Linked DNA regions of Homo sapiens: region 2 is linked to region 1. Evidence: promoter capture Hi-C in 16 types of primary human blood cells and fetal thymus (Javierre and others, 2016). All regions are on one chromosome and are shown on one strand. The core of a region is centred on a gene start or on the middle of the fragment in contact, and the rest is flanking DNA. Distances in the headings are between cores, read along the strand shown.

Region 1 (6,796 bases), core at 2,247-4,746:
ATAAATACTAAAATGCCCAATGCCTTTTTTTTTTTTTTTTTTTTTGAGACATGGTCTTGCTGTGTCACCCAGGCTGGAGTGCAATGGCACGATCTTAGCTCACTGCAACCTTCACCTCCTGGGTTCAAGTGATTCTCCTGTCTCAGCCTTCTGAGTAGCTGGGATTACAGGCGCCTGCCACCACACCCAGCTAATTTTTGTATTTTTAGTAGAGACCGGGTTTCACCATGTTGGTCAGGCTGGTCTTTTACTCCTGGCCTCAAGTGATCTGCCTGCCTTGGCTTCCCAAAGTCCTGGGATTACAGGCCTAAATGCCTTTTAATATATGCTGTTAGACTAAAGACAAGTTTTGTCTGTAGCTTTGCTTCTTCCATATTTTTCTTTTTTTTGAGATGGAGTCTTGCTCTGTTGGCCAGGCTAGAGTGCAGTGGCATGATCTCGGCTCATTGCAACCTCTGCCTCCTGGGTTCAAGTGATTCTCCTGCCTCAGCCTCCCGAGTAGCTAGGCTTACAGGCACCACCACCATGCCCGGCTAATTTTTGTATTTTTAGTAGAGATAGGGTTTCACCATGTTGGCCAGGTTGGTCTTCAATGTGATCCATGGCACCCAGCCATATTAATTTACTTTTATTAAATATCTCACTAAAATAATTTCTTGAAACAATTTTATTAGGTTAAAAATATCTGCTGGGCATGGTGGCTAATGCCTGTAATCCCAGCACTTTGGGAGGCTGAGGTGGGCGGATCACCTGAGGTCAGGAGTTCGAGACCAGCCTGGCCAACTTGGTGAAACCCTGTCTCTACTAAAAATGCAAAACTTAGCCGGGTGTGGTGGTGCACGCCTGTAGTCCCAGCTACTCGGGAGGCTGAGGCATGAGAATCACTTGAACCTGGAGGCAGAGGCTGCAGTGAGCCAAGAATGCACCACTGCACTGCAGCCTGGGCAACAGAATGAGACCCTGTCTCAAAAAAAAAAAAAAAAGTGAATCAGAAATTGCGATTAAATTAATTAAAGGTATGATTAAGATTTGCTTTGGAGAATATTTGGGTGGTCTGAGGTTATCTATGTTCAGTAATATTAAGTTCTAGGATAAATTATATGTATACTTTTGAAAATAGAGGATACATTTTCAAATCTTGAACATGCTTTGGTTAAAAAAATAACATTTTAGATTGATCTGGGGTTTTTTCAAATTGCTATTTCAATTTGGTTCAAGCCACTTTTAGGCATGACCCCAAAGCTGCAGTGAAAATATTATTCCTGCAGAAAGAAAGAAGGGGAGTATTTATCATCAATAACTTATATTGCTACAAGGTTACAAAACTGATGTATTATCTTTAAACAAATGCCCAGCAAAACATAATAGGAGTAATAAAAAAACAGTTCAACATTATTAAAACCGAGGAAGACTTAATAACATATTCAACAAACAAAAGGAACTTCATGATCCTGCTCACTTCAGCTGCAACAAGTCTGTGACTAATTTTCTGTAGCAAGGCAAATTGTTCACTCTGGGTATATCAGCGTTGGGAGATCACAATGCTATGTTGATTTCATAGTTCAACCTTCCCTTCATTTCTTGGTTTTATTTTTTCACCTATAATATAGTTTTGAACTTTGTGCAGAAAAAAAGTGAGGAGGGAAATGCATAGAAATGAATTTCAGAAATTTCCTTTCAAAGTGAGTAGATAGGAAATTTGAAGGGAAGAGAGAATACATATGAACACAATCTATTATGAAGGAAAGCATTACTGATTAAGATACTAGTTTTGAAGACATGAAATGAAAGACAATGAGCAACCAGATTTTTCCTCCAACAATGGAAGGAATATTATAATGCATTTAGTTAACAGAGTATAAAGTATTAAAATGAGTCCTTGAAATATAGTGTAATATTTGGTATTTGCATATTACACTTTCTCCTTTGAAAAGCATTTTCACAATTAGTCCTTTCAATCTCTGCAACCAGGTGGGCTATCCTTTTAACCCAGAGAGGGGCAATGGACTCTGGGATAGACCCCAGCCACAGCTGCCGCTGGACCGTGGGGTCGTTCAAAGATCTGGGCAGAAGTCCAGTTTCCAGCTCAGCGGACACCAGCCTCTAGGGTCCCACAGCCAGGGGAAGGAGAGGCTCCCGAGAGCGACTGCTCCCGCCACCGTCCATCCCTGAAATGCAGTTTCCTGTTCACAACCCGCAGGGAGAATGCCAGTCACTGTCAGGAAATTTTAAGGTCCTGGGCGATGGAGGGTCAAGGGCACACTGGCTTTGTGGCATCAAAATGATATGGGTTTGAATCCTCAGACATTCTTTTACTGTGAGGGACCTTGGGCAGTCTCTCTGGGCCTCAATTTTCTCATTTGTAGAGCAGACATACTTTGCTTTATTCCATGGGGTTTACTGATGACTAAATGACACAAAACAATAAAGGTCTCAGCCTACCGCCTGAAGCTGGTGGTTATAATTAGCAGCTCTGGAATGGGTAGGGAACCATCTGTAACGGCTTGGGGAAATCTTCATCTGCAAGATGGGCACAGCGTAGATTCAAATCTGTCGCCCAGTGGAGAGCGATCCGGTCTCACTGCAACCTCCGCCTCCCGGGTTCAAGCGATTCTCCTGCCTCAGCCTCCTGAGTAGCTGGGATTACAGGCGCGTGCCACCACAGCCGGCTAGTTTTTGTATTTTTAGTAGAGACGCGGTTTCACCATGTTGGTTAGGCTGGTCTGGAACTCCTGACCTCATGATCCACCCGGTCTCCCAAAGTACTGGGATTACAGGCATGAGCCACTGCGCCCGGCCAGATAGTAAACATTGCTTTGAAAACACAACTGCAACCCACACCTCCCGCAACCCACACCTCCCCATCCCCCAATTTTTTTTTTTTTTGAGATGGAGGCGCGCGCCACCACGTCCGGCTAATTTTTGTATTTTTAGTAGAGAGTGGGTTTCACCATGTTGGTCAGGCTGGTCTCGAACTCCTGATCTCATGATCCGTCCGCCTCGGCCTCTCAAAGTGCTGGGATTACAGGCGTGAGCCACTGTGCCCGGCCTCCCACCCCCTATTCTAAATGACACTTGTTTCCAAAATATGGGGGCTGGAGGAGCAGATCCAGAACCCAAGGAAACGTGATCAACCAGGGCAATTAATCCAGAGGGCAGGACAGGCTGAGCCTCAGCTCTTCTCTGAATATCTGGGACCCCTGCGCAGCCAGGTGAACCGCCCGCGACCGCTGCTCCGGCGGGAAGCCTTCTCTGGGATCCTGTACGCCGACGCCCGGAATCCGGCGTGGTGCGCTGGGAAACTGAGCGGTGGAGGAAGGCGGAGCGGTTAGGGGCGGGACCCTAGGGGAGGGGTTGGGGGAGGGCTTTGACGTTAGGGCGGGGCTAAGGGCGAGACCTCGCCGAGTTCCACCGTTGCGCTCGCCACGTCTCCCTTAGCGAGCTCGCTGGGGACACGCAGGGGGAGGGAAAACTGAGCGGGGCGGGAACTATCTCCTCTCGCGAGAGCTGGCGACGGCGGCGGCAGCGGCAGAGGTGGCGGCGGCGTGTCCGTGAGAGTGGCGTGGGGGCGGGGAGGAGAGGCGGCGGCGGCAGTGTCCAAGCTACGCCACTCGGGCCGGGGCGTTGGGAGCGGGAGTGCAGAGCGTGGTCGTGGCGGCGGCGGTGAGAAGAGCGAGGCGGAGGAGGGGGTGCCATGGCCGGGCAGCAGTTCCAGTACGATGACAGTGGGAACACCTTCTTCTACTTCCTCACCTCCTTCGTGGGGCTCATCGTGATCCCGGCGACATACTACCTCTGGCCCCGAGATCAGAATGCCGGTGAGTCCCGCCGGCCTTTGCCCGCGAACCCGCGCAGGCCCCGCCAGCGCCCCCAGGCCCTGCGGCGCCCGCTTGCCCGGCCCCAGCCCGCGGCGTCCGGGATGACAGGGACGGTGCGGCCCGGCCTGTGTCCAGCGTCCGCCACTGGCGGGGCCCGGGTCAGCAGCGTTTCCCTCGGCGCTTCTCCACCTCCCTTCATTGTCCTCAGGAGTTTCGCTCGCTCCATCTTCTCCATTGTTGTGGACGCTCCTTGCAGCCTCCTCCTGCCTCTTTGTCTTCTCTGCCTTTGCTTTTATTGGGGATTTTTCTTTATGGAGGAAGCGGGATGGGGACTTGGGAGGTGAGCAAAGAGTTGGCCAAGAAGAGACTGAACGTGCGGGCACAACTCTCAGTCCGTCCAGTTCGCGGCCCTCATCCCCCGACTCCGGTTTCCCTGTTGCAGCTGCTCTTAACAGATGTTTTAGGGCATCTCTGAGCCGGGTGGCATGCTTAGGACTCCAATTGAGCTTTCCACCGCCTACCCCCGTCACTTCCTCCCGTTGCTTTTTCATTTGTTCACTCACTGTGGGGGTTGGAAGCAATGCCGTTATTCCTCTTAGCAAAAATAGGCTTTTTTCTATTTCCTTTTCTTCGGAGTTTCCTGTTTGTGACGGAAAAAGTGCAAGTATGAAGGATTAAGTCTCGTTTAATTAATCTTGTAGGGAATTTTGAGGTAGTGGGTCGATTTACTTTTGGTTCTAAGTCTTTTCACATTAAACAACATCGAATTAAAGCACAGAATAACAGATTCTTTTCATATTTCACTTGATGTTTGGGTAATGTTTGCATCCATTTGTTGCACTCTACTAGGACATATGGCAGATGGTATTCTTAAAGCTGATGTAACTGCGAGGGCCTAATGGGTTATTTATGGTAGTGTTAACAGTAAGGAGTGGGTTTTGAGTATTAACAACTTAGGGAAAGCTTTCTATTGCACAAGAGCTGTGCTAACTTGCTTAAATATCTTCTCTTCAATTGGGTGTGCTGGAGGTCTAGGTTGTCCAGGTTATATACTCTACTTGGAGAAGTTGTTAACAGTGAAGCCTTGAATCAGCTCAGAACTTGTTATACTTTCAGATGGATTCAGTGTCCTGTAACATTCTTTTTCCCCCCCGCCCCATGTGATCTGCAGGAAACTAACATTCTTGACTTGGAATAGAACTAAAATAAATTTAGGATAAATAGTAACAAAGGATTGCATCATTTTGTACGTTTGACAATAAGTTTAAAAATCCATTAGATGCAAAAATCTGTCCAAAGTTACTAGTCTTAATACTTTTTTTACTCAATGGGTAGTTTATGAAATTTGGATCTTGGACTGTTGTGCCTTATTTCCTAAGTGCATTTAAATTGTGTAGGTTCTTCCTCGATGTTGAAAAAGGAAAAAAAATTGGGTAGGTTCTTTGGGCAGTGATTGTGTATAAGTGAAGTCTTAATGCTGTAATGGCTTTTCTTATCTGCAAACCTAGGCCATTCTTGTGGTTGTTGTATTTCAAGTTAAAAGGGTACACTTTTCAGTAGTTTATTTTCACCTAACAGCCATTATGTGTGCAATTGGTAGTGTAGAAAACAAAAAGGTATTGGGAGAGTAGTCGGTGGGTTTGGCCAGAATGTGTTTTGATCAGGCAGAACAAAGGTATAAAAAAAAGTGTTTTGAGAAACTGCCCTGATTTCAGAAATTAGCCATCATTTTTTAATCTACATTGGATTTTTAAAGTTGTTCTTTTTTTCTTTTTAAAGCGGGGAGAGTCTCATTTACCCAGGCTGGTCTTGAACTTGCTTCAAGTCATCCTCCCGCTTCAGCCCCCCGAGTAGCTGGCCTTACAGACTTGAGCCACTGTGTCAGGATGGATTTTTGAAATTTGAAAGTCATATTTTCATGGTGAGTTTCGTATTATAAAATTCACCTGATTTCATAGAAGAATCATACTATTTATTTATTTATTTATTTATTTATTTATTTAGAGACAGAGTCTCACTCTGTTGCCCAGGATGGAGTGCAGTGGCTTGATCTTGACTCATTGCAGCCTCCACCTGCTGGGTTCAAGCAGTTCTGCCACAGCTTCCCCAGTAGCTGGGATTACAGGCGTGCACCACCAGGCTTGGCTTATTTTCGTGTTTTTAGTAAAGATGGGGTTTCACCATGTTGACCAGGCTGGTCTCCAACTCCTGACACCAAGTGATCTGCCCTCCTCGGGCTCCCAAAGTGCTGGGACTACAGGCATGAGCCACCACGCCCTGCCAACAAGTCATACTTGACCCCCTTCAGCATGTAAGTGTCTTTGAAAAAGTGGTGGTAGTTTAGGTGGAGGGAATTAATACTATTTGTAAATCATGGACTTCAACTTTTACTTTATTTAATCTTCTTAAAAATGCAGTGAGGTTGGCCGGGCATGGTGGCTCACGCCTGCCGTGGCTCACTTTGGGAGGCCCAGGCGGGCGGATCACCTAAAGTCAGGAGTTCAAGACCAGCCTGGCCAACATGGTGAAACCCCGTCTCTACAAAAATACAAAAAGTTAGCTGGGAGTGGTGGCGGACGCCTGTAATTCCAGCTACCCGGGAGGCTGAGGCAGGGAGAATTGCTTGAACCCGGGAGCTGGAGGTTGCAATGAGCCGAGATCGTGCCACCACACTCCAGCAATGCAGTGAGGTAGGTTCTATTATTATCTCCATTTACAGGTAAAGAAACTGAGGGTAGAGCATGTAAGTAATTTTCCTGTATGGTTGAACTGGGATTAGAACATTGGTCGCTTAGCTTCAGAGCCCTGTGTGGTTTCCATACTGCTAGATAGAAAGTTAGGTGAACTATTATGGGTGTCAGTTTGCCCGTTTTACATCCGGCTCTCTGCTTCAGGCTTGCCTTAGTCCATATGCATATTTTGATGTATTTGTTTGCTCTTGCTCAAAATTGTGTTATGAAAATTAAGGTGAATACTTA
Region 2 (6,796 bases), core at 1,133-3,632, 1.1 Mb before region 1:
AAAATTTTAAAAATACATTTGTTGGAACTCTTGGTTACTGTAAATTTATTTGGAGGCAACCTTTTTATGTTGGAGAATAGAGTGACTAATTCACTCTAGTGCTCTATAGCAGAGAACAAGAAATTAGTACTCTTTGAGGAATTTAGGTCAGTCTTTATAGAGACCATAAAGGAATCTTGACATTTAATGGCTTGAAGGTTCTCCATAAACCACTAAATTAGAATATTAAATTAAAATTATTTTTCTTTTCACATAAGGCAGCATTAAATAATAATTTGAAACTATCTGGGGGAAAAAGGAATCCTAATTGGAGCTTCCTATACAATTTCAGTATATCTGAAATATTTCTTCAATAAATATTTATCAAGCACTAAGTATCAGCCTACTATATGCATGCAGTTAGCAGTTTTCACTTGCATTTACTTATTTTAAGCCACTTTTGATTTAACTGAATGCATGCTTTTCCCTTGCCTCTCATTAGAAAATGGAAAGATAAGCATTCTTCATTTTACAAATGTCATAACTAAGATTATGCCCTACTAGACAACTAAAACTGTGATTCCTTCAGAAATAAAATCATACCTCAACTCTTCTAGAACCAGAGTCATCATTTTTCACATACTTCTACCTAACTAGCTTTTGCAGCTCACAATCCCATACATCAAGTGCATTTATGTGTCCAACTCATTCATTTACAACCAGTTTATCTTGCAGGGTATGTCATATTGCTGCAAATTGCATGATGTACTGGGTTTGTTTTGTTTTTGTATTTGCTTACGGCTGAGTGGGCATTTGATTGTACTGTTTGTTTTTGTGGCTGTGCTCAGTGGATGAGAGCTTGGAAGCCTCTGTAGCCTTTTCTTCTATATCGACATTAACTCAATATTGCTTCTTTTGACCAGTAAAAAATATTTTGGGTGCATTAGCTATTTTTTAAAAGCAGTATAGAGAACATATATCATTTATCTTATTTATTAGGAGATAAATAAAAAGTAACCATTTTGACATGCCACTTTAAACATGATAGTTGAAGAGCTAAAAGAGTAACTTAGTTTTCACTGAGACACGGTAGCGTCACTTCTAAGACTGAAACTTATTTTCATTTATGAGTCCTGTTCTGTGGCCATAACTACTGCTATAAATTCCACTTGTTTCCTTGTCAGAATGTTCCAACTTTTTTTGTTTTTTAACCTGAGCACTTAAGCTTTGAAAACAGCATAAACATGCAAAAAGAGATCTAATTTAGGAATTTGTTTCTTTTAAAGAGAGAGAATAGAGTTATGTAAAGAAATAGTACTGACACAGGACTGGAGGGATCTGGGTTCTGGGCCCAACAATGTCAGTTGTTTTTCTCCTTTGTAACCTGTATTTTCCCAAGTTCCTCATCCGATTTCAGAGATTGAAATTCTGTCTTTATAACCCAGGGAGGGCGCTTATGAAGGAATATTAGAAATTGTAAAGCCTTCGAATATACTTGAGAGGAAAAAAGACGATTCAGAGATAGGCTACCAAGGTTTATTATCTGTGTAGGGGAGTGATATTTATAGCTTTTACGTAGCTTAGCAAAATGAATTTTGCATTGATTATAGGCCAAAGTCCTGCATTCTGCTGCCGATTCAGCGTCGTTTGGGCATTATGGGAAAGGAAGAAGGGAAATTTCAATAGTTTATCGAATTTAGAGAACTTCATTACTCCTGGTGCTGTCAGAATCAGTCTCGAGGTTGGCTGCTGTTTGGTTCTAGGTAAATGGCCGAGCAGGGGTGTAGGGGGCAGATTCCCCTGTCCCTGAAGCCCGAAGACTCGTGCTGCACCTTCCTGACAGTGCACGCTCACCTCGCGGCCCTCCAGAGCCCATTCCGTACCTGAGAATTAGCTGTTCGTGGGGAACCTGGGCCCCCAAGGTGATTTTTCACCTCGCCGCGTCAGACCGCCAGTTCCCAGCCTCCGCGCCGGAGGGGCGGTGCTTTGCGGGGACGCGAGCCCGCATTGGCTTGCGTGGCCGCCAGGGCGGTGAAATGACGGGCGCGGGGCGGGGCCGCGCGGCTTGTTTGTCGGCGCCGCCCCGCCCCCCCGCCGTCCGTGCTGACTGAGGCGCTGCAGCCAGGAGCCGCGGCCGGCTGCCCAGCGCTCGCCGCCTCCGCGCGTCCGCAGCCGTCCCCGCGCCGACATGCGCTTGGCCGCCGCCGCGAACGAGGCGTACACGGCCCCTTTGGCGGTCTCGGGGCTGCTGGGCTGCAAGCAGTGCGGCGGGGGCCGCGACCAGGACGAGGTACCTGGGCGAGGGGCTGAGCGGGCCGCTGGGTACCTGGGCGGGTGGGCACCCGGCCGAGCTGCCCTGTGCAACACGGAGGTCACGTTGCCTCCTCACAGTCGCTCCCGGTCAGCATCCGAAAACGCTCCCCAGATAGGGCGGGCTCCCGGGGAGCAGCGTCCCGGCCCTCCTGCGCCCCTCGGGGGAAGGGGTTGCCTGCGGTGGGTGGGAGACCTGCGCACCGTGAGTCGTCCCTGGGCAGAAAATGCTAAGCTGGGAGAGACTGCGGCCGCGGTCATGTAAATGAAAGTCTCCAATACGTAAATAACATTGTCGTCTGGACAAGTCTCCACAAGTCAGAAATCCAGCAGACCTCGAGTCTTGAGGGTGAAACAGCCTGTGGATATGCCCCCTCGATTGTCTTGTCTTGTGAAAACAGATTATTTAGCCACCTTCATCCCCTTTGCCTCCTACTTAAAAGAGAGAGAAAGAAAAAAAACACATTTGACTCAGGGAAGAGATGATGTTGCCTGGAATAAGTGTGTCCTGCAAGCTCTATGACGTTATGCACAGCGTTTACTCTTGCGTATTAAGCCATCCCTTTTCTGAATTGTCCTTTAGAAAGAGGTACTTAATTGTAACATTTTGTGTTTTTTTCTAAGTGGTTGCAAATAGGAAACCATTTGAAAGTTACTAATGTAACCTTAGGTAAAACTCGAACCTTAAATTTGGATTGAAATCAGGTGCTGTCAGAGTGTTGCCTTAGTTCAAGAAATCTAAATGTGAATTATTTTTTCTGCAGCTTTACTCACTAAAATGACGTGGTTTCGTGATTTCTTTAATGGAGTCTATTATCAGTATACTATGTATATTCATAGAAACTTAAATGAAGACACTTTGTCATGAAGGTTGTAAAGCACCAAATATTTTTTTGAGATTTTAACATTTATGGACATATTAGATGTTCCTTGTTTACAGATAATAAAACAATCTTTAAAAATCTCTTACAGTATCGCTTTGGAAACTTTACCAAAAAGTGAAAACAGTATGAAAGTATTGAATTAACATTTACAGTTTCTGTTTGCGGGTCATAATAGATCTTTTCTCTTTTTGAGTAGAAGTGAGCCCCAATCATCATGCTTGAATAGATCTGTTATTTCTGCTGATGTTTGTGTGCAGAGTCCTGGTTCTTGCTCAGATCTAGAATTTCTAAAGATAGCTTTGTAAACTAAAAGATAAAGAAATAGATTTTGGCTTGCATATTGTTACAGCGCTTATGGGATTGTGTTGAGGAAACCGGGAAGCTTTGTATAGTTGTATTTCATTTTTAATACATCCCAACATGTGAGAAGATAACTTAGGAAGGAATGCTTTATAGGAAAACTATTCACTTTACAAAAAGAATAACACAATTCTTTCAAATAGCTAGCTTCCATAATGCTTTTAAATTAAACACTTTCAAGAAACGGAACTCCTGAGCAAAGTATAGGGCACAAATATGGCCTAAGTATTACAAATGCAGTAACTTAAAGTCAGTAAGTTTTTTTTCTAAAATATAGTTCATAGAAGGCAAAAAAAAAAAAAAAAAAAAGTACCTGGACTTTCAGTATTTCTGAATTACCTATTAGTATTAATGACAATATTAACATAATTGTTAGTACATTTTGCTATAGTAGGCATATTTCTAACACTTCTAGATCTCTCCATTTCTATTTAAATTTTTTGAATGTCGAAAGGCCAGCACCCAGCTATAGGCAATCTCCCAGAGAAGGGCGAGTGGGATGGGAACTTTCACTTTTTATATAACATATCTTTACCTTGTTGAAATGTTTTTCAAAAAACACATGCTGCTTTTGAATTTAAAAAATAAAATTACTGTGAATGTTGTGATAATCACAACAGTAATAGTGTAGCGAGGAAAACAAAATGATTCAAATTATTTGTGTATTTTTACTTCTCAACTAATTTTGCAGGTGGGTAGATACTGTAAGCCAACAATGCTTTCATTTTGCACTTGTCATTCATTCATTATTTCACTTAAGGATATTGATACAGATGCATAAATGTATCTCACAAATTTGAAACATCTGACTGGAACAGTACTTTTCAGTACACAAACATTGATTCATACAGTGATACAATAAAAACATAGTCTTTCTGTGGTACTACTGTCAACATTCACTACGAATTTTCACTCTGAAAATTAGTGTTTTGCATTATACATTGAGGAAACATCAGAAGTAATATTGTGATGGTGGAAACTTGTTGTCTCTTTCAAAGATGGTTATTAGGTTGTTGAGGGGAAAAGATTGTTCTCATGTTAATCTTCCAGCCACACCTTCACAGAGAGCCTGTGAGGTTAGTGCTGTGATTAGTATCTACATCTGCTTTTCAACAAGGCCATTTGTTGGTGGCAGTTCTGTCTCCTAGAATCTGGATTGGCCAAAATTTGTTCAAAGTCTGTAGTTAAGTTTCTTACAGCTACAGATGAAGGAATAATTGAATTAACCTAAATAGGAAGCTATGAAATGTATTTAGTTTGGCTTATGATCACCCCATTGAACACCCGCAGTGCCTTTTTTGATCAGCATCTACTAGAAAAGAGTTGTAACCAATTTAACATGTGACCAAGAAGTGTTTCAAAAGTGAGTTTTCCAGAAAATGGAAACTTTTTATAAACCAAGACTACTACTGTATAATAACAGTGGTATCTGTAAGAATCTCCAAGGTATCAAGAAGTCTTAAAGAGGCTCAAAAGAATAATAATGAAAGATACCAACTCTAGAACCAGATGTCATTGATTCAGCCCCCGTCTCCACCACTCACTAGTACTGACTGAGCTAGAATACTTGGGTTCAAATCTCAGGGCTTTCCTTGGACACAGGGTGGGGAACATCACACACCGGGGCCTGTCGTGGGGTAGGGGGTGGGGGGAGGGATAGCATTAGGAGATATACCTAATGTAAATGACAAGTTAATGGGTGCAGCAAACCAACATGGCACATGCATACATATGTAACAAACCTGCACATTGTGCACATGTACCCTAGAACTTAAAGTATAATTTTAAAAATTAAAAAAATCTCAGGGCTTTCATCAGTTATGCTAAATGGAGATAATAATAGTACCTGCTTCATAGATTAAGGTAAGGATTAATCTAAGACTCTTGACTTTTTCATGAATATTGTAGAACACCAAATACTCTTTCTAAACTTTAGTATCATAGACTCATGTTCTTTGTTTACAGGTAGTATAATTTAAAACAGTGCTCAGCTCATACTTTGTGTTAGCTGCTGCTGCTGCTATTGCTATTTATTATCATGAGCCCTAGTTGCTTTTTCAGTGTTATTCAAGAAATAAGCCGAAAACTGAAAGGCAATTTGGTTCTCAGATATCATTGACTAGTGTTAGGGTGCCAGCCACAGTCTAGAAACCCCACTTTACCCTCTCTTCCTCTGCTACTTCTGAGAAATTAGACAGCCAAATCTGTTAGACCTTATACCTAAGACTAGAATCTATAACAAAAGACTCACGTTTGTATAATTTGTAAAATTCTATAGTTTATAATATAGATTATAATCCCACATAGTTGGGATTGATGGTATTATTATTTTGTCATCATCCCTATTTTACAGATTAGGACTCTTCAATTTGGAGGCTAAGGAAGAGGGGAGACAGTGTTATTAATATGCCCACTAAATTTGGCAATAGGGATGGACTTACAAAGACAAGAATTACATAGAACCCTTGCCATAAATATAGGAAATACTCTGTTTCTCAAGCATTCATAGCCACCTTCTTGGAATTGTAAACCTATTGTTTTATAATAATTTGGCATATAAACTATATATTTGGTAGAGAAATAAAACCAGAATAATATAATTTGTATACCTCTTTGTTTCTAAACCTATGTGCTGTCAATCTGGCCACATTTTTAAAAAGGTAACTACCTTTCATGATGCTAATGTATTTGTAAGATAAAGGCCTAGAAATTGAATCAGTGAGGTTTTTTTTCCTGCCTACTGATAACATAATATATACATATTCTGCACTTTGCTTCTCCTCCCCTTCCCCATTATTGTAATATAACTTGAAGAGCTTTTAAAGTCAACTCATGTAGAAGTGCTTCATTTTTTCTAAAGACTGCATGCTACTCTATTATATGGTCATGCTGAACTTTATTGAAACAGCCTTCTATTGAACACTGAGATTGTTTTCAACCTCGTACTATTAGAAACAATGTTGCAGTGGTTATCCTTTTACGTATGGCATTTCACAAATGTGAGCACATCTGTAGGTTAACACTTAGGATGGAATTGTTGATTCAAAGGCTATGGGACTTTTTAATTTTGATCACTATTACAAATTGCCCTTCCTAGCGGTTGTAGTAATATATTCTCTATACTCTTTTTTCTCATACTTCAAAACACTCTCATCAGCAATATATAAACAATTAATGACAGTTTCTCTACCCTTTCTCCAATACAGCCTGTGATCAAACTTTTTGATCTTAAGCAATCTTTTTGGAGGAAGACAGTATCTCAG

The links. Contacts are between HindIII fragments. The CHiCAGO score rates a contact against its expected background, and 5 or more counts as called.
Region 2: a contact is called between a fragment that was not itself captured here and the fragment with the promoter of SEC63 in region 1, in 1 of 17 cell types (fetal thymus). The highest score is 5.0, in fetal thymus.

The regions. Positions count from the first base shown.
Region 1 is chr6:107,954,908-107,961,703 of GRCh38, reverse strand. It overlaps SEC63 (SEC63 protein translocation regulator), which reads left to right and starts at 3,496. Exons shown (of 21, transcript NM_007214.5): 1 at 3,496-3,818. The coding sequence starts at 3,695. RefSeq lists enhancers at 2,253-2,853, 3,456-4,057 and a silencer at 3,294-3,833. The HindIII fragment of the contact is 6,986 bases long and covers 1-4,783 here.
Region 2 is chr6:109,004,832-109,011,627 of GRCh38, reverse strand. The region is part of intron 1 of SESN1 (sestrin 1); the gene reads left to right. It also overlaps a transcript of ARMC2 not described here. Among named protein-coding and RNA genes, the nearest start is that of ARMC2-AS1, 84 kb to the right of the region's middle. RefSeq lists enhancers at 1,698-1,817, 1,828-1,877 and a silencer at 1,948-2,327. The HindIII fragment of the contact is 2,351 bases long and covers 1,207-3,557 here.